Regions from separate parts of the Homo sapiens genome. Here all the other regions are linked to region 3. Evidence: promoter capture Hi-C in 16 types of primary human blood cells and fetal thymus (Javierre and others, 2016). All regions are on one chromosome and are shown on one strand. Each heading gives the region's core, a stretch centred on a gene start or on the middle of the fragment in contact. The rest is flanking DNA. Distances are from core to core; before and after follow the strand shown.

Region 1 (5,977 bases), core at 3,206-5,705, 150 kb before region 3:
CCTCCAGTATTGAGACCTGGTTCCCCATATTCTAGGGTCTTTGCCCAGAAGGCTGATTCCACCCTCCAAGAAGCTTCCACTGGGGATTAGTGATGACACAAATCCTGTAACTCTTAGCCTGTAGGATATTTCTGGTCCTTTCAGCTTGCTGCTACACGCAGGCCACTATGGAGTGGAGGTGCTGGGAAGCTAGGAGAGGACAATAGGGGTTGCCTCTCCCTGGATCATGTTCAGTCTGGGTAGCTTCCCTGGAAATCTCATGGAGATTCCACAGTAGTTCCGGATCCAGCTTGAGTGGTGGGAGGTATGTAAATCAATCAAGTAAGCAAGGTGTTCTTTCTGGAGAGGGTGCACACTCTGCTCATGTAAAGTCTACATCACTGTATTTTGGTTCCAGGAATTCCCACCCAAACTGCCCCATTCTAAATTAGGCCTCTTCAAATCAATAACAGTTCTTCTGTGACTGCTGGAATATGGAAGCCCAATATTTTAGGGATTACCACAGACTAAGGAGAAGGGAATCCAGACTTCACATGCATTCAGGCCACAAAGAAACACAAGTATTGGCAAAAGTGACAAGCATTCAGCCTACAGATATACCAGACAGGGACAAAGTCTTAAAGATGAGAGTCCTCGTCTTTATATTAGGGCTTCCCCTGTTAAAATGGATGGAGACATCTCTCAACTCCTAGACCTGAAGGGGAGTCCTGCCCATTCCCAACAGTCCTGGATCCCTTGAGCTAGGTCCTAAACCTGACAACCCAGAGTCCTAATAATCAAAACCAAAACCACTCTTTTAGTCAGTTCACAGAACCACCACCACTTACTGCCTCAAAATTGCACCAAATGAAAGGTCCAAGCAGCCACTTCTGCTTTCCTGGTGGGCTGGGGGGATGGGGTTGGCATGCCTGAGGCCCTTCACCAATCTCCCTCTTGGCAACTTAACCCACTCATGCTTCCTCAGACTGCTGCTTCGCCTGTAAGCAGCCTATAAGGGAGGTCGAGTCAGGGCTCAGTCCATAGTCCCATCTGGATCAACCAGATTTGTTTCCCAGGCCCTCCCACCCCACTGCCTCCAAAAAAAAAGCGGGGTTTGTTTGCCTGGTGAGTAACAAAAGTCGCTGAGAACACAGACTTTGATCAATAGGAGTTTTATTACTTGTCACAAGTAGGAAGAGCTCTGGGAATATTCGTCAAAGCAGTGTCTCCTAAGAGAAAATGACAGGAAGGCTTTATAGAGTGATCGAGAGGGGAGAAGGTGCATCATCACATGAAGAGGAGGGGTCCCAGTGACACAGATGGAGGGAGTCATCGTGCCACCACATAGGACGCATGCTATGGTAATGAAACTATAGCTCTCCCAGGGTGCAGGATTTAGCATTGTAATGAGGAAAGTTCACTGTAAGTGAGTTCATCTATAAGTTGCTGGGGTCTGTCAGGAGCAGGTTCCAACTGACTAGGTGACCACATTTCACACAGGGTTTGAGACAAAACCGTCTGCAAGGCAGAAGGCTGTAAAACGGGCTAATTGCTCAAATTCATTAAATTCCTTCACTCCCTGGGGGCCCGCCCTGTCTTGTCTATATAGCCAGTCCTTAGGAAGTGAGGCCAAGCTGAACTGTTGACACAGTCTATGTCTTTACGAGTCTGGGAGCTGGGTGATTTTACCTCTGATGCTAGACTTATTTTTACTGGTTTTGAAGCCTTGCTTACAGCCCTTTCCCAGTTTCTCACGAAATACTCATGAAAGGGGATGGTGGGGAGTGGGCATGGGGAAAAGGGAATGATATTAAAATTAAAGCTAACATCATTGGCCTCTAGGGGGCACTCATGGCTCATCTCCATAGCCCTTGGCTCTTGCAGCTGCCCAAGATGAGAGTCCTGATCTAAGGAAACTCCACCACCACCAAGGCTGGGGTGGTGGCAATGGGGGCATTATTTTCCAAACCTGACTAGGCTACATTTTAAGGGGATCATAGTCACAGAGAACATAGATGTGGACTATTAATTTTCTTTGCCTGAGCAGCCGTAGCCCTATGTGCTCCTCTCCAGCCTTTCAGGGAGCTATGATGGGCCAAAAAATGCTCAGTAGCCCAAGCCATCTCCTCCATAGACACTGGAGTAAAATCTCTGCCTATGGGTGTGTGTGTCTTGTCTTACTCTATCCTGGATTTGTTTCCTCCAATGCTGGTGGCTTTACTTTAGATAGTCTGATTGTTGCAGAGATGAGACCCAAGGCTCCACTCTGGAGAAAATAGAGCCCTCTTGAGAGGTCAGCCCAACTTGCTAGACTTCTGCATGGGGCTTGGGGTTCAATGTTCCAGCCTGTCCCCAAAAAGTCATGGCCAAATTCACATATTCCTTTGATCCCTGATGGTGTCTCATCACACAGTTCGTCTGGCCTCACCATTGCTCCACTAAGTCCAGGAACCTCAAGGAACTATGAGACAGGTAGGGCTAGACTTAACAAAATGGCTATCACAGTCTTCATTTCATGAGACAGAGGTGAACTGAGAAAAGGTGGAAGGTGCTTCAGAGACTTCTCTGTATTCATCCCTAACTTAGGCAGAGAGCCTTGGCCACACAGGAAACTGGGGAAGACCCCTCTCTTACTCAGGAGTCCCCCACACTGGTGCCATCTTATGACAGGCAGGCATCAGCTTCAGAGCCAGTCAAACAGTTAGGAATAGCAAACATTGCTCCAGAATTTGTTGGGGTTTTTTTTCCCCTGAATTTGATAGTAAGCTCCACATAGGCAAGAATGACAACCATCTTGTTCTCCTTGTTTCTCTGGAGTCTAACACAACATGTAGCACGTGGTTGGCCCAATAAGAATTTGTCGAATGGGGGCCAGATGTGGTGGCTCATGCCTGTAATCCCAGCACTTTGGGAGGCTGAGGTGGGAGAGTCGTTTGAGGCCTGGAGTTCAAGATCAACCTGTTCAACATAGTGAGACCCCTATCTTCTTTTTTTTTTTTTTTTTTTTAAAGTGGAGTTTGTTGAATGGCACACAGAAAATAAACAATCCAAATGACAGATCAGAGGTGCTGGAAAAGACCAGGGAGATCTAATCGTTAAATCACGTCATCTAAATATTAAGAGGAGACATTTGGACATCTGATAGAATTTGGCATTGAATAAGTGATAAATACACAGAAAACTGAACAACGGCAAAAAGAAAAGTATCAGTTCTAAGGGAAAAGATACAAATCAAAAGCCTTCAGGAAAGGATAAGTCATCATGGCTTACTGTATAGCTTAGCTTAAAATAACACAGAATAGTGAAGTAGCCCAAAGGGCCATCTAACCACACTGGGAAGCTGAGCAGGGGAGGAGTGCGTATATGCATGGAGGAGACTTGTCTTCACCCTCCTCAGCAGCTGACAGCAGGCAGGCTAGACCTGGACAATGGAGCAGGAGTCACACAGCCTGTGAAAGAAGTGCTGGGGAATGTAGGGGCTGCTGTTTCACATGACAGAGCCATTGAACCCTGGCTGTTTATAATAGTTACATACATAATTTTAATAGAAATAAAAACCAAAAAGAAAAAAGACTTAAACATGAAAGGCAAAACCATTACAATTTTTAGAGGAAAATATAAGAGAGTAAGAACAGAAAAATGTCTTAAGGCACAAAGTGCTAACCATAAAGAAAAAGATTGATAAATTCATCTTGATAAATTTTTTGTTTATCAAAAGGCACCATAAAGACAGTGAAAAGACAAGGCACAAAATGGGAGAAGATAATTGCAGCACATCTGACCAGCAAAGAATTTGTATCCAGAATATATAAAGAACTTCTATGAGTCGGTTTTTTAAAAACACAATTTATATTTAAGTCTCTTTAAAACAAATAGACAATTCATAGAAATATGGTGATATGGTTTGGCTGTGTCCCCACCCAAATCTCATCTTGAATTGTAGCTTCCATAATTTCCACATGTTGTGGGAGGGACCCAGTGGGAGGTAATTGAATCATGGGGGCAGATTTTTCCCATGTTCTTGTGTTAGTGAATAAGTCTCATGAGAGCTGATGGTTTTATAAAGAGCAGTGCCCCTGCACACCCTCTCTTGCCTACCACCACATAAGATGTGCCTTTGCTCCTCCTTCACGTTCTGCTGTGATTGGTCCGCATCCAAATGTCATCTTGAATTGTAGCTCCCATAATCCTCATGTGTTGTGGGAGGGACCTGGTGGGAGGTAATTGAATCATGGGGGCAGATTTTTCCCATTTTCTTGTGATAGTGAATAAGTCTCATGAGAGCTGAGGGTTTTATAAAAGGCAGTTCCCTTGCACAAGCTTTCTTGCCTACCATCATGTAAGATATGCCTTTTTCATTATAAGTTACCCAGTCTTGGATATTTCTTCACAGTGGTATGAAAATGGACTAATACACATGGGCTAAACTCATGAGCAGGCAACTTTATAGAAAAACACAAATAGCCCATAAACATAAAATGTAGATTGAGTTCATTATTAATTAGGGTAATGCATGTTATGGATAGAATAAAATACCTTTTTACATTCACTGGATTGGCACAAAGTTTTGTCTTTGTGCCACTCTAAATGTTGACAGGGATGTTGATCAACTGGAATTCACACACTGCTTGAGGAAGCTTGCATTCACTCTATAATTCAGCATTCTGAAAAGTGCTCACCAATAATCAGCCCAGGAAGGTTCACAAGGACATCTTCACCAAATATGTCCTTTCACCCTAGCAAAGAACTAGAAACAACTCAAGTGTCTTTTGACAAGAGAATGAGTAAATGGCAAGTGGTATGTCACGCAAAAGAATTCTAGACAGAAGAGAAAATTAAGGAACATCAAACTTAGTGAATCTTTGAGACGATGTTGAGTAGGAAAAAAAATTCAGAAGAATATATTGTATGATACTTTTATCATAAGGTTTAAAAGCAAGCCAAGGTAAACATGTGCAGGGACACCTAGGGACCCATGTCATTTTAGGATCAAACAGATAGATGGACAGATGATAGATAGACAGACAGATGGATTTTTTTAACTCAAAATAGTGGTTACATCCTTAGGGAGCTGGGATTGGAGAAGAGACACTTAGCTTTGAAAGTATTGTCAAATATAGTGACCTTTCTAGTTCATTTGGGTGCTGGGTTCAGGGGTATTCATTTTATTATGCACCATAATTTATGTGAGACATTTTATTATATCAAATATTTTCTAATCTTACAGTAAGCAGTTTGGTAAACAGATTCATAACTGCATATAATGTGTAGGTCTTGTGAACAATGCTGCTGTGAATATCAGGACCCAACTGCACTTGTCTCTCACTGCCTTTTGTAAGCCTGCTCAATTGGGGAGTTCTTCCCCTTATACTGGAGATGAGAACTCAGGTAATGCCTCGACTGTTCGGATCACTGTCAGGGGATTACATGTTCTACCGTGCTGACTTTTCACTGAAAGCCCAGTCTCCACTCAATAAGTAAAAGTGTAATAATCGAAACTCCCAATTTGAGTTCCACTTAAAATCTTCTCTCTTCCCCTGCCAGACCTCTCTGCACCATCTAGGGGAGCATAGTCCCCTCTGTCCCTGCCTGACAGGGCTCTCCTCCTCAGCAGCACAGGGAGGTGTCTGACCCATCTGTGTGTGTGTGTCTATGTGGTGGGGATGGGGACCATAGCTTGGCATCCTGCCCTCTCACCCTGGCAGTTCATTGTCTCAAGCTGACTTTCTTGGGTGTTTTCATGGCTTCTTCTGAGGCCTCCCTCTGGAATATTGGATCGTAACTCCAGCAATGCAAGCAATAGGTTTTCCTCCAGCTTCTGGTCCTCCTCCTCCTCCTCCTCCTCCCCAAACCTGGTTTCTAGCAGTCACTCCACTGAGACTCAGAGTCTTCTTGGCCCAGTGCCAGCCTCTTGCATGTCCCAAACCTTGTCCTCAGGAAACACTTATGCATCCTATGCTGGGGTGAACTCTTAAGAGTGCAGGATCACCTCATGGCC
Region 2 (5,235 bases), core at 1,947-4,446, 190 kb after region 3:
GGCACAGTGGCTCTTACACCTGTAATACTAGCACTTTGGGAAGCTGAGGCAGGAGGATCACTTGAGGTCAGGAGTTCCAGACCAGCCTGGCCAACATGGTGAAACTTTGTCTCTACTAAAAATACAAAAATTAGCCAGGCGTGGTGGTGCATGCCTGTAGTTCCAGCTATTTGGGAGGCTGAGGCAGGAGAATCGCTTGAGCCTGGGAAGCGGAGGTTGCAGTGACCCAAGATGGTGCCACTGCACTCCTGCCTGGAGAACAGAGTGAGACTCTGTCTCAAAAACAAACAAACAAACAAAAAAATAAAACCCACAAACCCAATAAAAATGTATAGGTTCTCCTGTCTTTTTTTTTTTTTTTTTGCTTTTACTATTTAATTGACACATAATTATAAATATTTGTGGGGTACAGTATGATGTTTCAATGCATGTATATAATGTATAATCATTAAATCAGGGTAATGAGAATATCCATCACCTCAAACATTTATTAATATTATTTTGTGTGTGTGTTGAAAACATTCAAAATTTACTCTTCTAGCTATTTGAAAATATACAATAAACCAAGCACAGTGGCACACTCCTATAATCTCAGCTACTTGGGAAGCTGAGGCAGCAGAATTGCTTGAGGTGGGAAGTTCAAGACCAGCCTATGCAACAAAGTGAGACCCCTCTCTGTATAGCAAAAAATTTAAAATTAGCCCCGCACGACATTGTATGCCTGTAGTCCCAGCTACTTGGGAGGCTGACATGGGAGGATTGCTTGAGCTTAGGAGTTTGAGGCTGTAGTGAGCTATTTTCACACCGCTGCACTCCACTCCACACACATACAACCAAACAATAAATTGTGAATTATAGTTGCCCTATGGTGCTATAGAACACCGCAACTTAGTCCTTCTATCTGGCTGTGCTGTTTAATGTGTTAACCAACCTTTGGGTATTTCCCCTGCACCCCTGCCCTCCCCAGCCTCTGATAACCACTGTTCTTCTCTCTGTTTCTATGAGATCAACTTTTTTTAGCTTCCACATTTGAGTGAGAACATGTGGTATTTATCTTTCTGTCCCTGGCTTATTTCACTTAACATATCCTCCAAGCTCATCCATGTTGCCACAAATGACAGTATTTTGTTGTTGTTGTTTTTTTAATTGCTAACTAGTATTCCATTATGTGCACGTACCACGTGTTCTTTATCCATTGACTGATACTTCGGTCGATTCCATATCTTGGATGTTGTCAATACTGCCGCAGTAAACATGGGAGTACAGACATCTCTTTGACACACCTATTTCAATTCTTTTGGACGTATATCCAGAAGTGAGATTGCTGGATCATACGGTAGTTCTAGTTTTAGTTTTTTTGAGAAACCTCCATGCTGTTTTCCGTAATGGCTGTACTAATTTACATTCCCACCAACAGTCTGTAAGAGTTCCCCTTTCTCCGCATCCTCACCATCATTTATTTTTTGTCTTTTTCTTAACAGCCTTTTTAACTGGGATAAGATGAAACCTCTTCTGTCTCTTTTTTTTTTTTTTTTTTTTTTTGAGACGGAGTTTTGCTCTTGTCGCCCAGGCTGCAGTGCAGTAGCACAATCTCGGCTCACTGCAACCTCCTCCTCCCGGATTCAAGCAATTCTCCTGCCTCAGCCTCCCGAGTAGCTGGGATTACAGGCATGTGCCACCGTGCCCGACTAATTTTGTATTTTTAGTAGAGACGGGGCTTCTCCATGTTTGTCAGGCTGTTTTCGAACTCGCGCCCTCAAGTGATCGGCCTGCCTTGGCCTCCCAGAGTGCTGGGATTACAGGTGTGAGCCACCGTGCCTGGCCTTCTTCTGTCATCTTAAGTGAGAAAACATAGTATAGCTTTCATCGTTATGAGGGTTTTGATACTAACTTCTGTTACGTTTTGAAAAAAATTTTGGCCTGTTTGTCTTTCATTGTGTCTATCATAAAAATTTGATTTTTATACAACGAGAATTCATCAGTATTTTGGCTTTTCTTACTTAAGTTTTATTTTAGATGTTCAGATTTCTAAGGTGAGATTTATTTTTGCATGCGATATAAGATAGGGATTGAACTTTTCCTAAATAGAAAGCCTGTTATCCCCAATCTATTTATTGGGTATTTGTAGTTTCCCTTGTAGTGTATGAATTCTACCTTAAGCATTTCATAAGTACTCTTACAGTCATGGGTGTTTTAAGGCCTCTTTTTACTTCCATTGACTTATTTGTCTGATTCTGTGTATTTCATTGTTTTAATTACCACCATTTTTATATAATACTTTGGTTTAAAACATACTTCTTACTTTTTTTTTTTTTTTTGGCATTTCTTTCTCCAAATAAGCTTATAAACAACTTACCATGTTCTGCGAAAAATACTGGGATTTTTCAGTTGGAATCACATGAAACGTACAGGTTATTTTGGGGAGAATAGATAGCTTTACAATGAATCTTCCTATCCAGAGAAAGGGAAGTAGACCTTTCCGTTTATTCTAGTCTTTTTTGTGTGTTCATCAAAGTTTTAAGGCCAGGTGTGGTGGCTCATGCCCCATAATGCCAGTGCTTTGGGAGGCTGAGGCGGGAAGACTGCCTGAAGCCAGGAGTTTGAGATCAGCCAGGGTAACATAGTGAGACCCCCCGCCAACCCTCATCTCTACAAAAAATAAAAACTAGCTGGGTGTGGTGGCGCATGCCTGTAGTCCCAGCTACTTGGGAGGCAGATGTGGGAGGATCGCTGTAGCCCAGGAGTTGGAGGCTGCGGTGAGCTATGATCTGGCCACTGCACTCCAGTCTGGGCGACAGAAGGAGACTCTGTCTCTAATAAAAACCAAACAAACAAAATAAATGAAACGTTTTAAGGTTTTCTTCTTACACATTTCTTGTGAAGTTTCTTCCTAGATATGCTGTAGCTGCTGTTGTTGCTGTTGGGAATGGGATCTTTTCTGTTATACTTTGTATCCCATCTTTGCCCGCATATTAGAAATGCAGCTGCTCTGTGCTGCCTCTTCTGACACTTCTGTCCCTTTCTCCCTCAAGTCCTCATGGTATATTGTCTGTACCTCCGTGGCAATACTGTGTGCCTGAGTGTGAGTTCCCAGTGGTGGGGTGCTCATCTCACTCCATTTCATGTCACCAGTACCTGGCACAAAGCCTAGCATGCGGTAAATCCTTTTAATAAACGCCGTGGCATCAGATTGATGAGAGGGACAGTGAGCTTCACCTCTTCAAAGTGTGACAGCCTGGGCCAATGTGAGCAGCAGAATCTCAAGCAGCCCTGGCTCCAGGCCCTGCAGGCTGTGATCTGGATAACAGATTGGGCACCCTCCTTGTCCCCGCAGGAAAAAGGAGGTCCTGGGCCATTTTTCCACGTGCAGACATCAGGGAGGAGCCCTCTGAGCCTCTATCTCATTATTATCCTGAGACCCACAGCCCCCTTGTTGTTAGCCCTCATTAGTGCTAACTAGTTGGGAGAACTGCTTTCTTAGCTTCCAATCATTTCAAGGTAGCACAAACAAACTTATCTGCAGCTTCCCTTAGGGGATGAGGACTCATCAAGGCTGGAAGCAGAGCTTGTACAGAACATTGTGAGATGGGTTCACACCTATGTGCCCAGTCACCTTCTCTCATATGGTAGTGCCTTTCTTTTTTCTTCTACTATTCTCCTCCAGAGTATATGCATCCCCCCAACCCAGTATGTCCTACGTGAAGTTTATTCCTATCCGTGTGCTAATCTTTACCATAGCGTTTGCATTTGTTTTTCCCTTGAGACAGAGTCTCACTCTGTCACCAAACCTGGAATGCAGTGGCATGATCTTAGCTTACTGCAATCTCTGCCTCTGGGTTCAAGTGATCCTCCCACCTCAGCCTCCCTAGTAGTTGGGACTACAGGTGCATACCACCACACCCAGCTATTCTTTGTATTTTTTTAGAGATGGGGTTTCACCATATTGCCCAGGCTGGTCTTGATTTCTGGGGCATAAGTGGTCTGCCTGCCCAAAGTGTTGGGATTACAGGCATGAGCCACAGTGCCCAGGCTTGGTGTTTGCATTTTATATGTAAGCTTTTGTTTGTAATTGGGGAATGGCAGGCACTATTCCTTGATGGAGCTGTCTGGGGCATGCCAATTCACTCTGTACCCTTGGCAGTGGTTCCAGACTCTCAGGTCCCTGCCCCCACTGGTCTCTGCTGCCCCTGGAGCAAGGATGGTGATGTCTACCTGCCTTGGAGGGACCCAGGAACAAGGGAACTCCCACCTCTTGTTCAAGGGCTTGAGGGCTATGCCCTTGGAGAGAAGGGAATCCCTGCTGTTGTTAAGCAGGGGTCAGGATTTCTGCCTCTCAACATGCATAAAAAGAAGGTGGGAGTGAGGACGTGAGCTGATTTCTAATCCCTCTCTAGCAGTTGTGCATCTGGTTCAGCGTGTCCCGGGGTTTCCCTGGGTTTTGCTTGACCGCAGCAGTAAGCTGTTCCTCATTTATCCCGTGGTCTGTGCTCACCCTCCCCTTCCCACTCACTCATCTCCCATGCTCAGGGTGGCAGAGGACATAGAAATGCTTCTCTGGCTCCTCTGCTGGTTTGTTTTAATCCCTGGGAAACATTGGAACCAAGAGGACACTCAAGAAATACTGGATTGGGGAAAAGATCTGGAAGTATTGCTCTATCTGCCCCTATCCCCTGCTGTTGGTTTCTTACTTCATCTCCCAGTGCCCACCTGGGGCCTCTGAGTCTCCCCAGCCAGGTGGCCCTGAGGCTCCCCATGAGGCCCCAGCTGCATCCACAGCTGCATCTCTGCCAGCTCTGGAGGAGCTGCTTTCTCAGGGTGCTGAGCAGAGACTCTGACAGATGGACCTCCATGAACCGATGGAGCTGTTCCAGATGCCTCCTTACAGAGCAGAGCGCATTCTGGCAGTGAGGCCACGATGCAGGGCTGCCTAGGGCTTTAGCCCACCCGTTGGACAAAGTCTGTTTCTACACTGCCACCTCCATCCATGTTTTGGCGTTTCAGAGAGCATCAGCACTGACCACTGAATGGCCAGGCCTGCATGTGCATATGGGAGGTGGGAAGAGACTACTGTCCCTGGTCAGCCTGTAAGAACCTCAGTTCACCTGGTTTCTGAACCAGCCGAGGCCTTCCCCTCATCTGCACTCACCCTCAACCCCATAGGATTATGGGAAGGGGTTCTCAAAAGGTCGTTCAGGGGCCACCTGGGTCAGAATCCCTTCCATGGTCAGGCAGCGT
Region 3 (6,111 bases), core at 3,425-5,924:
CATTTCCCTTTATTTGAATCAGCTCATTCTATATCTTTTTCTTCCCAAGTACTTTTCAAACCTATTTGTCATTTTATATTCCCAATGGACTCATAGCAAAAATTTTAACAATGTGAACAATTTGTTTTTAGTACACACTCCATTTCTGCTTTCATAGCCCCTCCATTCCCAAGCAATGTTCAAGATAGGCTGTTTTAGTGTCTCAATGCATGGAGCTCACCTAGCCTCCCCTTGAGAATATTGCTCATCTTTTAAAGAATTTTTTCCTTCTAATGGCTCTAAACCTTCATCCACGGAAGACTTAAAACAACTGGAACTCAGTTTTTCTTTTTTCTTTTCTTTTCTTTTCTTTTTTTTTTGAGATGGAGTCTCACTTTGTCGCCCAGGCTGGAATGCAATGGCACGATCTCAGCTCACTGCAACCTCTGCCTCCTGGGTTCAAGTGATTCTCCTGCCTCAGCCTCCTGAGCAGCTGGGACTAGAGGTACCCACTACCACGCCCAGCTAATTTTGTATTTTTAGTAGAGACAGGTTTTCACTATGTTAGCCAGGGTGGTCTTGATCTCCTGACCTTGTGATCTGCCCACCTCAGCCTCCCAAAGTGCTGGGATTATAGGCATGAGCCACCATGCCCCGCCCAGTTTTTCTTTTTCACTGTGGTAGACCCATGCCAGACACAGACCCATGAGCTTGAAAGATATTCAATAAACACTTGCTCAATTAATAAAGGCATCTAGCCTTTAGGCTTTCTGCTTCTAGCTCTAAGTGCCTTGCAGAGAAGAGTGGGTCCCAAAAGCATAACGGTCATTGTTTTTCATTGTTCATCTCAGTAATCAGCATAATTGGCTAATTACATTCCTGTAAATCATTTTGGGGACAGTGAGACAATATTTATCTCAACAACATTTGAACATTCAACAATGTTCATTGAGTGTCACATCTGGTTTCGCAAGCCATTCTAGGCAGTGGGGATAGAGCTGTGAGCAAGGCAGAAAAGGATCTTAACTTTCTGGAAATTATATTCTAGTGGGGAATGAAAGACAATAAGCAACCCAAATCATATCAGACAGTGGTAAGGATTATCAAGACAATTAAAATAAGACCAACTAATGAAGGATGACTGGGTGGCTCCTTAGAATGGGTGGTCAGAGAAGTTCTCCTTGAGGAGGTAACATGTAAACTGAGAAATGAATGATGAGGCAGAGCCAGCCAAGTGAAGATGAGGGTAAAAGCATCCCAGGAAAAGGAGTCAGCTATGCAAAGGTCTTGAGTGGAAAAGCAGATGTTTGGATGGTGTCGGTGGAGAGTATTAAGCAAGGAGATTGGGAGATGAAGTCAGAAAGGCAACAGGGGCCGAGTCACTCTGTAATCCCCAGTAAGGAGTGTGGATGTTTATTCCAAGTGCCATGGGAATTCACTGAAGAGTTTTAAGCCGAGGAGTGATGGAATCTGATTTTTGCTTTAAAAAGATCATTAGTGGCCAGGCGTGATGGCTCACACCTGTAATCCCAGCACTTTGGGAGGCTGAGGTGGGTGGATCACTTGAGGTCAGGAGTTCAAGACCAGCGTGGCCAACATGGCAAAACCCTGTCTCTACTAAAAAATACAAAAATTAGCCAAGTTTGGTGGCGAGCACCTATAATCCCAGCTACTCAGGAGGTTGAGGCAGGGAGAATTGCTTGAACCTGGGAGGTGGAGGTTGCAGCCGAGATTGTGCCACTGCACTCCAGCCTGGGTGACAGAGCAAGACTTCATCTCAAAAAAAAAAAAAATTAGCTGCTGTTGTAAGAATGCATTGTAGTAGGTAAGAATGAACGCCCTTCCTGTACTAATGCAATTGTCCCTCTAGGTATGTCACTTAACACAAGAGTACCAACCTTGCAAGTGAAATACACCTAGAGTCTTCCTTGTTTTTACCCTCCCTGACCCCCGAACTCCGCTGGGTCTGTATTTTTCCTTTTCTTCTTTTTGCTTTTTAGCAATAGGAGTCTCACTATGTTGCCCAGGCTGGAATGCAGTGGCTATTCACAGGTGAGATCATAGCACACCACAGCCTTAAACTCCTGGGCTCAAGTGATCCTCCTGGGTTTTTTGTTTGTTTTGTTTTGTTTTGTTTTTTTAGAGGTCTCACTCTGTTGCCCAGGCTGGAGAGCAGTGGTGTAATCATAGCTCACTATATCCTCGAACTCCTGGGCTCAAGCGATCCTCCTGTCTCAGCCTTCCAAAGTGCTGGGATTACAGGCGTGAGCCAGCGCACCTGGTCCAGGCCTGTGTTTTCTAAACCCCGATGTTACATTTCAGATTAAGAACTTCACCTTCTAGGCATCTTTTGCTGCTGCCCAAAAATGAGCAAGTAGGAATGAGCATGCAGGAGTGCAGGAGACCTGACGTTGGCATATGCAAGCGGCCAGATGGAGGCTGCTATATTCAGGAAAAGTGTTCATGGCTGGGAGTGAGCACCGGAAGGAAAGAGCATCTCAATTCCTAACCTGGTCTAGTCTGCCAGGTGAACTGCTGAAGCCTATTTGCTGAAGGAATACCTTCCACGCTTAGCCTCCAATCTTTAGGGCAGGGGTAGGTAGGATATTCTCATCAGTTATGCCAAGAATCTTTTATAGCTTTGATTTCCTGATTGTGTATACAAAATTGTTTAGTTTTTAAACTTTTCCAGTTAAACAAGAAATGAGGAATGTAAAATTTTTACCTTGGCCAAGATTTTCTTATTTCAGGTCCCTAGAAAGCTGAGTATTGAACTTTGCCCCAGATATCAAAAACTCTGGTCAACATTTACAAATTCTCTCCCTAAAAAGACTAGATCCTGCTTCCTATATTCACTTAGCTATTACCTTAAGAACTGCTAGCAACTGGGCATATTAACTTTCTAATATCAGGAACAGCCTCTATGTGGCGCTAGCTATGTTTACGACTATGCACACCCCTTATATGTGTGTCTCAGTTATAGCTTCTTAAAGTCTTCTCATCATAATCTTAAAATCTAGGATGTTTGTAAATTTTCTTTACTTGTTAAGCTAAACATTATAAAAAAAAGAACTACTTTAGAGATTGTGCTGAATGGGAGCAGATGCCCCTCCCTACCCCACCAGCTGTACTTCTACCTGTGCTTCCACCATTAGAGTATCCACCTGCTGGGTTTGTTTGCTGATGTATCCCTAACACCTAGAACAGAACCTGGCACATAGTAGACACTCAGTAAACATTTACTGAGTGAGAGGTTGAATGGATCAGATTTTGACCTGTGTTGCCTCCTGCCAGGACCCCATCTGCACTATAATGCCCACCCAATGACCAGCATCTCCAGTGCATCAATTTCTTTAGGCCCAACCCATCATGTTTACATTCTGAAGAGAGTCAGTAGAGAGAGTTTTGAAGACACAGTAGAGTGCCCTATACAATTATCTTCCCAGATTTATCTGCAGTAGATCCATGAGAGTTGATAGTAGACCCATGCACATTAATGCTTGCTGGGGGCAGAAGGGGAGGTGATATGATGCAAGCAAGTACTTTCAACCCTAAGTCTGAAAAGTTGATGACTACACAAAATCACTTCAGGTAACTCCAACAGAAATATACACAACGGAGGTTGGGAGAAATGAGAGATCTGGAGGCTGGCTAGGTGGAGGAGGCAACACCTGAATTAGGGATTTAAGCTAGACCTTGAAGAATAGGTCATGCCATCACACTAACAAACTCACAGGGAGGCTCCCAAATTTTGGGAAAGTGTCCCCCAGAGACTTAGACTTTTAAACCAAAGCCTAATGTTTCACAAAGTCTTCTGAGACAGAATGATTAGCAAGCTTGTAGGACCTTTTTGTAAAGAGGATGTATATGGATTCGTACAGACACACATCTACATGCAGAACGTGCCATTCTGTATTTGATGCATAAAACCACCTTGTCCCGGTCTCAGGGCAGGAACAGTGTCATACAGATTTTTGTGTCTCCACTGCTTTTGCATAGCGGCTCTTAGAGATTAAACGCTTTTTTTCCAAATATTTTATAGGTTTTTTGACATTAAAACGTTAGTCTCATCTGGGTGCGGTGGCACACGCCAGTAATCCCAGTACTTTGGGAGGCAGAGGCAAGAAGATCGCTTGAGCCCTGAAGTTGGAGACCACAGTGAGCTATGATCACACCACTGCACTCCTGTGACAGCCTGGGTGACACCGCAAGACCCTGTCTTAAAAAAAAAAAAAGTTAGACTTATGTTCTTTTCTAAGCAATAAAATTAGTCTTAGATATTGCCTAATATCTAAGACTACCAATTTTTGTGTAGAATGTAATACAAGCTAAAAAATACATTCGAAAGACTTTCTGTCCCCCAATTTATAAATCCTGGTTAGTTTAGCTAAGTCTGCAGTTGTGCTGGGATCAGCAATCCCTCCTTAAATGCAGGAGTATTGTGAGTGTGATGAGGGACTACCCCAAATCAAAATAATTTTAAAAGCAAACCTTAGCTTGCTAATTGGTTCCACTTTCTTCCTTGTTCCTTTTCCTTTACCAAGATGGCCGCTGTGTCGTTCGCTCCTCATTGGTCGGATTTTCCGCAGGTGCCGATTCTAGCCCCACCTACTAGCTCTCCGTTCCAAGTCCTAAATCACTGGGAATGTAATAGACAGACGAACGGGAGTGGGCGGAGCGGGCGCCGGATGTGACGTTTCCGGAACCTCCGGGTGTCATCCGCGGGGAAAGGTGGGGAAGGGTCCCGGGAACGTGGTGGGGCAGGGCCTCCGAGCGTGGTTGGACTTTGAAGGGGATCGGCCGCCGTGAGTGTGGGGCCTGCAGCCTACTCTCCCCGAGTCCCCTGCCCGGCCTGCCTCGCTCGAGGCACCCGACGGCTTCTGTCTCCGCGGGCTGGCGCCTGACCAGCCAGGCCCAGCGGTTCCCCGCCTACTGCATTTGAAAGATCCCGAAAACCCTGGATGATTGTGCCTGGGGTTGGCAAGTTCGTCTTGAGTGCCTTCAAGAAGGGTTCCTCAAGCAGTTGTCGATAGAGCCCTCCCTACTGTATACGCCCCCTCCGCTCATTCCTGCTACTTCCTTTCTCCTCCTCGTATTTCCCCCTCGGTCCTTTACGCCGCCTTTCCCCCTCATTTGCAGATGCTGCATCCCCTTTTTGGAATTGCTCAACCAGGTGGTAACCGGCGCCGCTTCCTGGCCTTGGGAGGTGGTTCCTTTCTTAACCCACAAGAACCTCTCCCAAGAGGTACTGAGATGCAACAAGCATCCTCTGTTTCAGTTAACTTTCATGGGCCGTGGACTAGGTTTACTAATTACTTGGGGAGGTTTTAGATATGCTTGCGGCTTTCTGAGTCCCTAAGGAGGCCTCGTGAGAGATGGACTATCTCTGCATCCCTAGTAGTCCTCACGGCTTTTGTGCTATTAGTGAGGGTGTTTTAGAGGGGAAGGTTTGTGGAGGAATTGTGACCCGAATATTGAAGAGACCTAAAGATGGAATTGGCTGAGAGAAGACTACCCCTGAGGGAAGAGTTGTAGTAGAAAAGAAAAACTGGATAGATAAATGAAACTGAAATGTGAGGATGCCTGGGCGGATTGGAATCCTGACTGAAGCAAAAGATCTCTGTTGGGGAGGGCCAGTTGCCACAGGGCCTTGAATTCCAAGATTTATTCTACTGTAGTTTGTGTATTCTAGAGCATACTGATTAGGGTTTGCTGTAATGCAATGTGTGTCAAATGCCCAGTTTTATTTTGGAGATGATAGTGGTGATATCTGGTTGGAATTTGGAATCTGATTCTAACAGCAACTATATCTAGAAAGACTAGAATTACTGGAGTTTTGGGACACCAGGGGTTTTTGCAATGCAAGTTACCATCGTGCCTTTTTGTTATTCAGTGTTTAGTCTATGAAGATGAGTAAATGGTTGTTTTCAAGATTTAAGTCTCTTGCCATGATAATGATGAATGAATGATTTTATAGATTGACTATAGTGGTTTAGTGAGCAGAGTTACAATTATGAGCATTAATTCCCAGACCAGTTCCCCTAACTCACCTTGTGCTCAAATATGAAAAAGGATACCACAGAAAATGTCAGTTACTCTCAGATTAAGTAAAAATGGTCAACCTTGAAGTTA
Region 4 (5,256 bases), core at 1,480-3,979, 230 kb after region 3:
TGTTATAAGTTATCATGTCCCAGGGAAAATGAGGGAAATTTGACAAATAACAATGCCGATTAACTTATTAAATTTCAAGGGTGAAGAATCACCTACAAGTTTAAAAAAAAAAAAAGTTGGTCACCTATATTAGGTTTTTGTAGACAAATTTTTTTTAATTTTTAAATTTTTTTCTTTTTTAAAAGCACTTTCAAAAAACATTTTGTATTGAAATACACATACAGGAAGATATGTAAATCACAAGTGTACAGCTCAATACAGTTTTATAAAAGACACACTCATGTAAACAGCAGAACAGAATTTTACCAGCATCTCAGAAGCCTCCGAAGTCCACCCCTCCAGGCACGTGGCACCCAATCCCCTAAAGCATAGGCTGGCAGCCTGCAGACCAAACCTGGCCCACACTCATGTATAAAAGGGGTTTTTATGTTTTTAAATGGTTGAAAAAAAAAGTCAGTTGAAGAATAACATTTCACGACTCATGAAAATATCAGAGTCTGTAAAGTTTTATGAAAACATGACCAGGCTCATTTGTTGATCCGTTGTCTATAGCCACTTTTGCACTACAGCAGCACAGTTGAGTAGTTGCCCCTGAGATTGCAGAGCCTAAGATGTGTGCTGTCTGGTGCTTAACAGAGTAAGTTTGCTGACCCCTGTCCTAAGGTAACTATTCTATTCTAACTTCTTACCACACTGATCAGTTTTGCCTGTTCTTGAACTTCATACAATGGAATCATGAATATGTATCATATGCTCTTTCATATTTTGGCTTTTGCTCAATGATGTGTTTGTGAGATTCATCTATATTGTGTTTTTATTTTATTTATTTAATTTTTATTTATTTTTTTGAGACGGAGTCTCGCTGTGTTGACCAGGCTGGAACATAGTGATGCAATATCGGCTTACTGCAACCTTCGCCTCCCCGGTTCAGGTGATTCTCCTGGCTCAGACTCCAGAGTAGCTGGGACTACAGGCATGCGCCACCACACCTGGCTAACTTTTGTATTTTTTTAGTAGAGACAGGGTTTCGCCAGGTTGGCCAGGCTGGTCTGGAACTCCTGACCTGAGGTGATCTGCCTGCCTTGGCCTCCCAAAGTGCTAGGATTACAGGTGTGAGCCACCATGCCTGACCTATTTATTTATTTTTAGAGAGACAGGATATCACTGTTGTCCAGGCCAGAGTACAGTGATGTGATCATAGCTCACTGCAACCATGAACTCCTTGGCTCAAGTGATCCCCACACCTCCCAAGTAGCTGGGACTACAGGCACATGCCACTGTGCCTGGCTAATTTGTAAATTTTTTTTTAGAGACAAGGTCTCTCTTTGTTGCCCAGGCTAGTCTCCCACCTTGGCCTCTCAGCATGCTGGGATTGCAGGTGTGAGCCACCATGCCTGGCCCTGTGTTATCTGTATGTATGTACATTTGTTATCTGCCCCGTCGTTCATTCTCATAGCTGTACAGCATTCCATTTTTTGAATACACCACAGTGTATCCAGTAGGTCACTGATGGTCTTTTGGGTTGTTTCCAACTTGGGGTTATTATGAATCATGCTGATATAAGACATTCTTATACCTGTCTCTTGGTGCATTTATGTATACATGTGTATACTTAGGTATTTACCTAGGACTGAAATTGTGTGTGTTGAGCTTTAGTAGGTACCATTGGTCTTTCAAAGTGGTTGTTACAGTTTAAGCTCCCACCAGCATTGCTCCACGTTCTCACCAGCAAATGGTGCCATCCAGTCTTTGCCATTGTGGTAGATGTATAATAGTATCTCACTGTGGGTTTAATTTGAATTTCCCTGATGCCTAATGAGGGTGAGCAGTTTTTCATATGCCGTCTTTTGTGGAGTTCCTGTTCAAGTCATTTCTGTTCAAGTTCCGGTTCAAGTCATTCAAGTTGCTGTTCAAGCCCATTTCTGTATTGTTTTTCTTATTGAGTGGTAAGGGTTCTTTATTTTGGATATATGGGTTCTTAGCTGGATACGTGTATTGCAGTTCTCAGAGTAGAGTATTGAGATTAAAAAGTTTGATCCAAGTTCGACTTACTTAAGTCACCATCCATATGTAAAGTCTTCATAAAAACATTTTTTTTTAAATTTATTATTATTTTTTTTTATTGATCATTCTTGGGTGTTTCTCGCAGAGGGGGATTTGGCAGGGTCATAGGACAATAGTGGAGGGAAGGTCAGCAGATAAACAAGTGAACAAAGGTCTCTGGTTTTCCTAGGCAGAGGACCCTGCGGCCTTCCGCAGTGTTTGTGTCCCTGGGTACTTGAGATTAGGGAGTGGTGATGACTCTTAGCGAGCATGCTGCCTTCAAGCATCTGTTTAACAAAGCACATCTTGCACCGCCCTTAATCCATTTAACCCTGAGTGGACATAGCACATGTTTCAGAGAGCACAGGGTTGGGGGTAAGGTCACAGATCAACAGGATAAGTATTTTTCTTAGTACAGAACAAAGTGAAAAGTCTCCCATGTCTACCTCTTTCTACACAGACACAGCAACCATCCGATTTCTCAATCTTTTCCCCACCTTTCCCCCCTTTCTATTCCACAAAACCGCCACTGTCATCATGGCCCGTTCTCAATGAGCTGTTGGGCACACCTCCCAGACGGGGTGGTGGCCGGGCAGAGGGGCTCCTCACTTCCCAGTAGGGGCGGCCGGGCAGAGGCGCCCCTCACCTACCGGACGGGGCGGCCGGCCGGGCGGGGGGCTGACCCCCCCCACTTCCCTCCCGGACGGGGCGGCCGGCCGGGCGGGGGGCTGACCCCCCCACCTCCCTCCCGGACGGGGTGGCTGGCCGGGCGGGGGGCTGACCCCCCCACTTCCCTCCCGGATGGGGCGGCTGGCCAGGCAGAGGGGCTCCTCACTTCCCAGTAGGGGCGGCCGGGCAGAGGCGCCCCTCACCTCCCGGACGGGGCGGCTGGCCGGGTGGGGGGCTGACCCCCCCACCTCCCTCCCGGACGGGGCGGCTGGCAGGGCGGGGGGCTGACCCCCCCACCTCCCTCCCGGACGGGGCGGCTGGCAGGGCGGGGGACTGACCCCCCCACCTCCTTCCCGGACGGGGCGGCTGGCTGGGCAGAGGGGCTCCTCACTTCCCAGTAGGGGCGGCCGGGCAGAGGCGCCCCTCACCTCCCGGACGGGGCGGCTGGCCGGGCGGGGGGCTGACCCCCCCCACCTCCCTCCCAGACGGGGTGGCTGTCAGGCAGAGACGCTCCTCACTTCCCAGACGGGGTGGCTGCCGGGCGGAGGGGCTCCTCACTTCTCAGACGGGGCAGCTGCCGGGCGGAGGGGCTCCTCACTTCTCAGACGGGGCGGCCGGGCAGAGACGCTCCTCACCTCCCAGACGGGGTCGCGGCCGGGTAGAGGCGCTCCTCACATCTCAGACGATGGGCGGCCGGGCAGAGACGCTCCTCACTTCCTACATGGGATGGCGGCCGGGAAGAGGCGCTCCTCACTTCCTAGATGGGATGGCGGCCGGGCAGAGATGCTCCTCACTTTCCAGACTGGGCAGCCAGGCAGAGGGGCTCCTCACGTCCCAGACAATGGGCGACCAGGCAGAGACGCTCCTCACTTCCCAGACGGGGTGGCGGCCGGGCAGAGGCTGCAGTCTCGGCACTTTGGGAGGCCAAGGCAGGTGGCTGGGAGGTGGAGGTTGTAGCGAGCCGAGAGCACGCCACTGCACTCCAGCCTGGGCACCATTGAGCACTGAGTGAACCAGACTCCGTCTGCAATCCCGGCACCTCGGGAGGCCGAGGCTGGCGGATCACTCGCGGTTAGGAGCTGGAGACCAGCCCGGCCAACACAGCGAAACCCCGTCTCCACCAAAAAAAATCCATAAAAACATTTTTAAATATGCAAGAACTCAAATTTTCTAGAGATGAATCAAAATAATAATAGATGGGGAAGTTGTAGTATGGAGAGGCTGGCGATGAACACTAAATCTGTTCAAATGTAAAGTCTAACTTTAAATGACAGTTATTTTTCTAAAACAAAAGATATTTACTTAAACTCTACTTAAGATATATTTTTATGTTAAACATCTTAACATGTAGCAGAGGGAAATATGTTCCTGAGGATACCAGTGAAAAGCAGAAGTAAAGGAGGAGGTGGGAGAAATTATAGAGGTGCTAACTTTTCTCTTTAGAAGTACCGTTAGCATTTTTAAAAACATACTATAGATTTTCCAGATTACCAGGGATGGTGCTGATGGGGGAAATAGAAAATACAAAATCTGCAGCAAACGAGGAAGACAAGGAAGCACTAAACATGGAAAACATAAAATGCCGGAAATATATGTTATAACAATGAATGTAAGTAGGGTAAAGATTGAATTTAAGATTGAATAGCATTAAACAGCACCAAGAAGGTTAGTAAACCTTGTTTCACTGTGAGAAAAAAGAGAACCGTATGCTGAAGGATCTAAATACTTGGTTAAGTTCAGGTGAAACTTTTTTTTTTTTTTTTTTTTGAGACAGAGTATCACTCTGTCACCCAGGCTGGAGTGCAGTGGCGCGATCTCGTCTCATTGCAACTTCCGCCTCCTGGGTTCAAGCCATACTCCTGCCTCAGACTCCCGAGTAGCTGGGGTTACAGGCGTGCACCACCACGCCTGGCTAATTTTTGTATTTTTAGCAGAGATGAGGTTTCACCATGTTGACCAGGCTGGTCTCTAACTCCTGACCTCAAGTGATCTACCCACCTCAGCTTCCCAAAGTGTTGGGATTACAGGCCTGAGCCACCATGCCTGGCCTGAAACTTTTTTTTTTTTTAATGGAGTATGCCAGGCTTCTCATGTAAGATCACTTTGAGAAGTCTAATTGTCCCACCGTTGGTGAAGCCCAGGTGTCACTAGGTTAAGGTGGTAAGAGCAAGAGCCAGGTCTTGCCATTATAAAGTTATGTTTTCCCCTTTGTGTCCAGCAAATAATTTGTCAGGCAATACTTCACCACCATGTGATTATCCAGTTCCCCATCAATCTTTAGTCATATCATGTCTACTGATGATCCTTGTGTAAGTTAATTTTTCATTAGGGATTGCAAACTGATGATATTCTAATTCTGTCCATCCTTTTTTTACGTTTAATACCTTACAAAACCTGAAAGATGCTCAATAATTCAGTCACAGAAGGACAAATGCTGCATGATTCCACTTATATGAGTTTTTGTAAAATAGACTTATAGAAGTAGCAAATAGAATGTGATTGCTAAGGGATGGGGGAGGGGGAGATGAGTTGTTCAGTGGGTAT

Evidence for each region. The method cuts DNA at HindIII sites, captures the fragments that hold promoters and counts their contacts. A CHiCAGO score of 5 or more calls a contact.
Region 1: a contact is called between a fragment that was not itself captured here and the fragment with the promoter of STAMBP in region 3, in 1 of 17 cell types (megakaryocytes). The highest score is 6.3, in megakaryocytes.
Region 2: a contact is called between a fragment that was not itself captured here and the fragment with the promoter of STAMBP in region 3, in 6 of 17 cell types (M1 macrophages, M0 macrophages, monocytes and 3 more). The highest score is 8.1, in M1 macrophages.
Region 4: a fragment that was not itself captured here is called in contact with the fragment with the promoter of STAMBP in region 3 in 15 of 17 cell types (monocytes, M1 macrophages, M2 macrophages and 12 more); the score reaches 10.9 in monocytes.

The regions. Positions count from the first base shown.
Region 1 is chr2:73,678,558-73,684,534 of GRCh38, forward strand. It overlaps the pseudogene ALMS1P1. Among named protein-coding and RNA genes, the nearest start is that of NAT8, 39 kb to the left of the region's middle. The HindIII fragment of the contact is 317 bases long and covers 4,298-4,614 here.
Region 2 is chr2:74,016,443-74,021,677 of GRCh38, forward strand. The region is part of intron 3 of TET3 (tet methylcytosine dioxygenase 3); the gene reads left to right. Among named protein-coding and RNA genes, the nearest start is that of TET3, 34 kb to the left of the region's middle. RefSeq lists a silencer at 4,619-4,698 and enhancers at 4,879-4,928, 4,880-5,235. The HindIII fragment of the contact is 1,716 bases long and covers 2,339-4,054 here.
Region 3 is chr2:73,824,287-73,830,397 of GRCh38, forward strand. STAMBP (STAM binding protein) reads left to right here and starts at 4,675. Exons shown (of 10, transcript NM_213622.4): 1 at 4,675-5,224. LOC105374807 (a long non-coding RNA gene) reads right to left here. Exons shown (of 3, transcript XR_940246.3): 1 at 6,030-6,111; 2 at 4,471-4,618. RefSeq lists a silencer at 4,446-4,664. The HindIII fragment of the contact is 5,447 bases long and covers 3,814-6,111 here.
Region 4 is chr2:74,058,423-74,063,678 of GRCh38, forward strand. The region is part of intron 4 of TET3 (tet methylcytosine dioxygenase 3); the gene reads left to right. Among named protein-coding and RNA genes, the nearest start is that of TET3, 76 kb to the left of the region's middle. The HindIII fragment of the contact is 6,470 bases long and covers 1-5,256 here.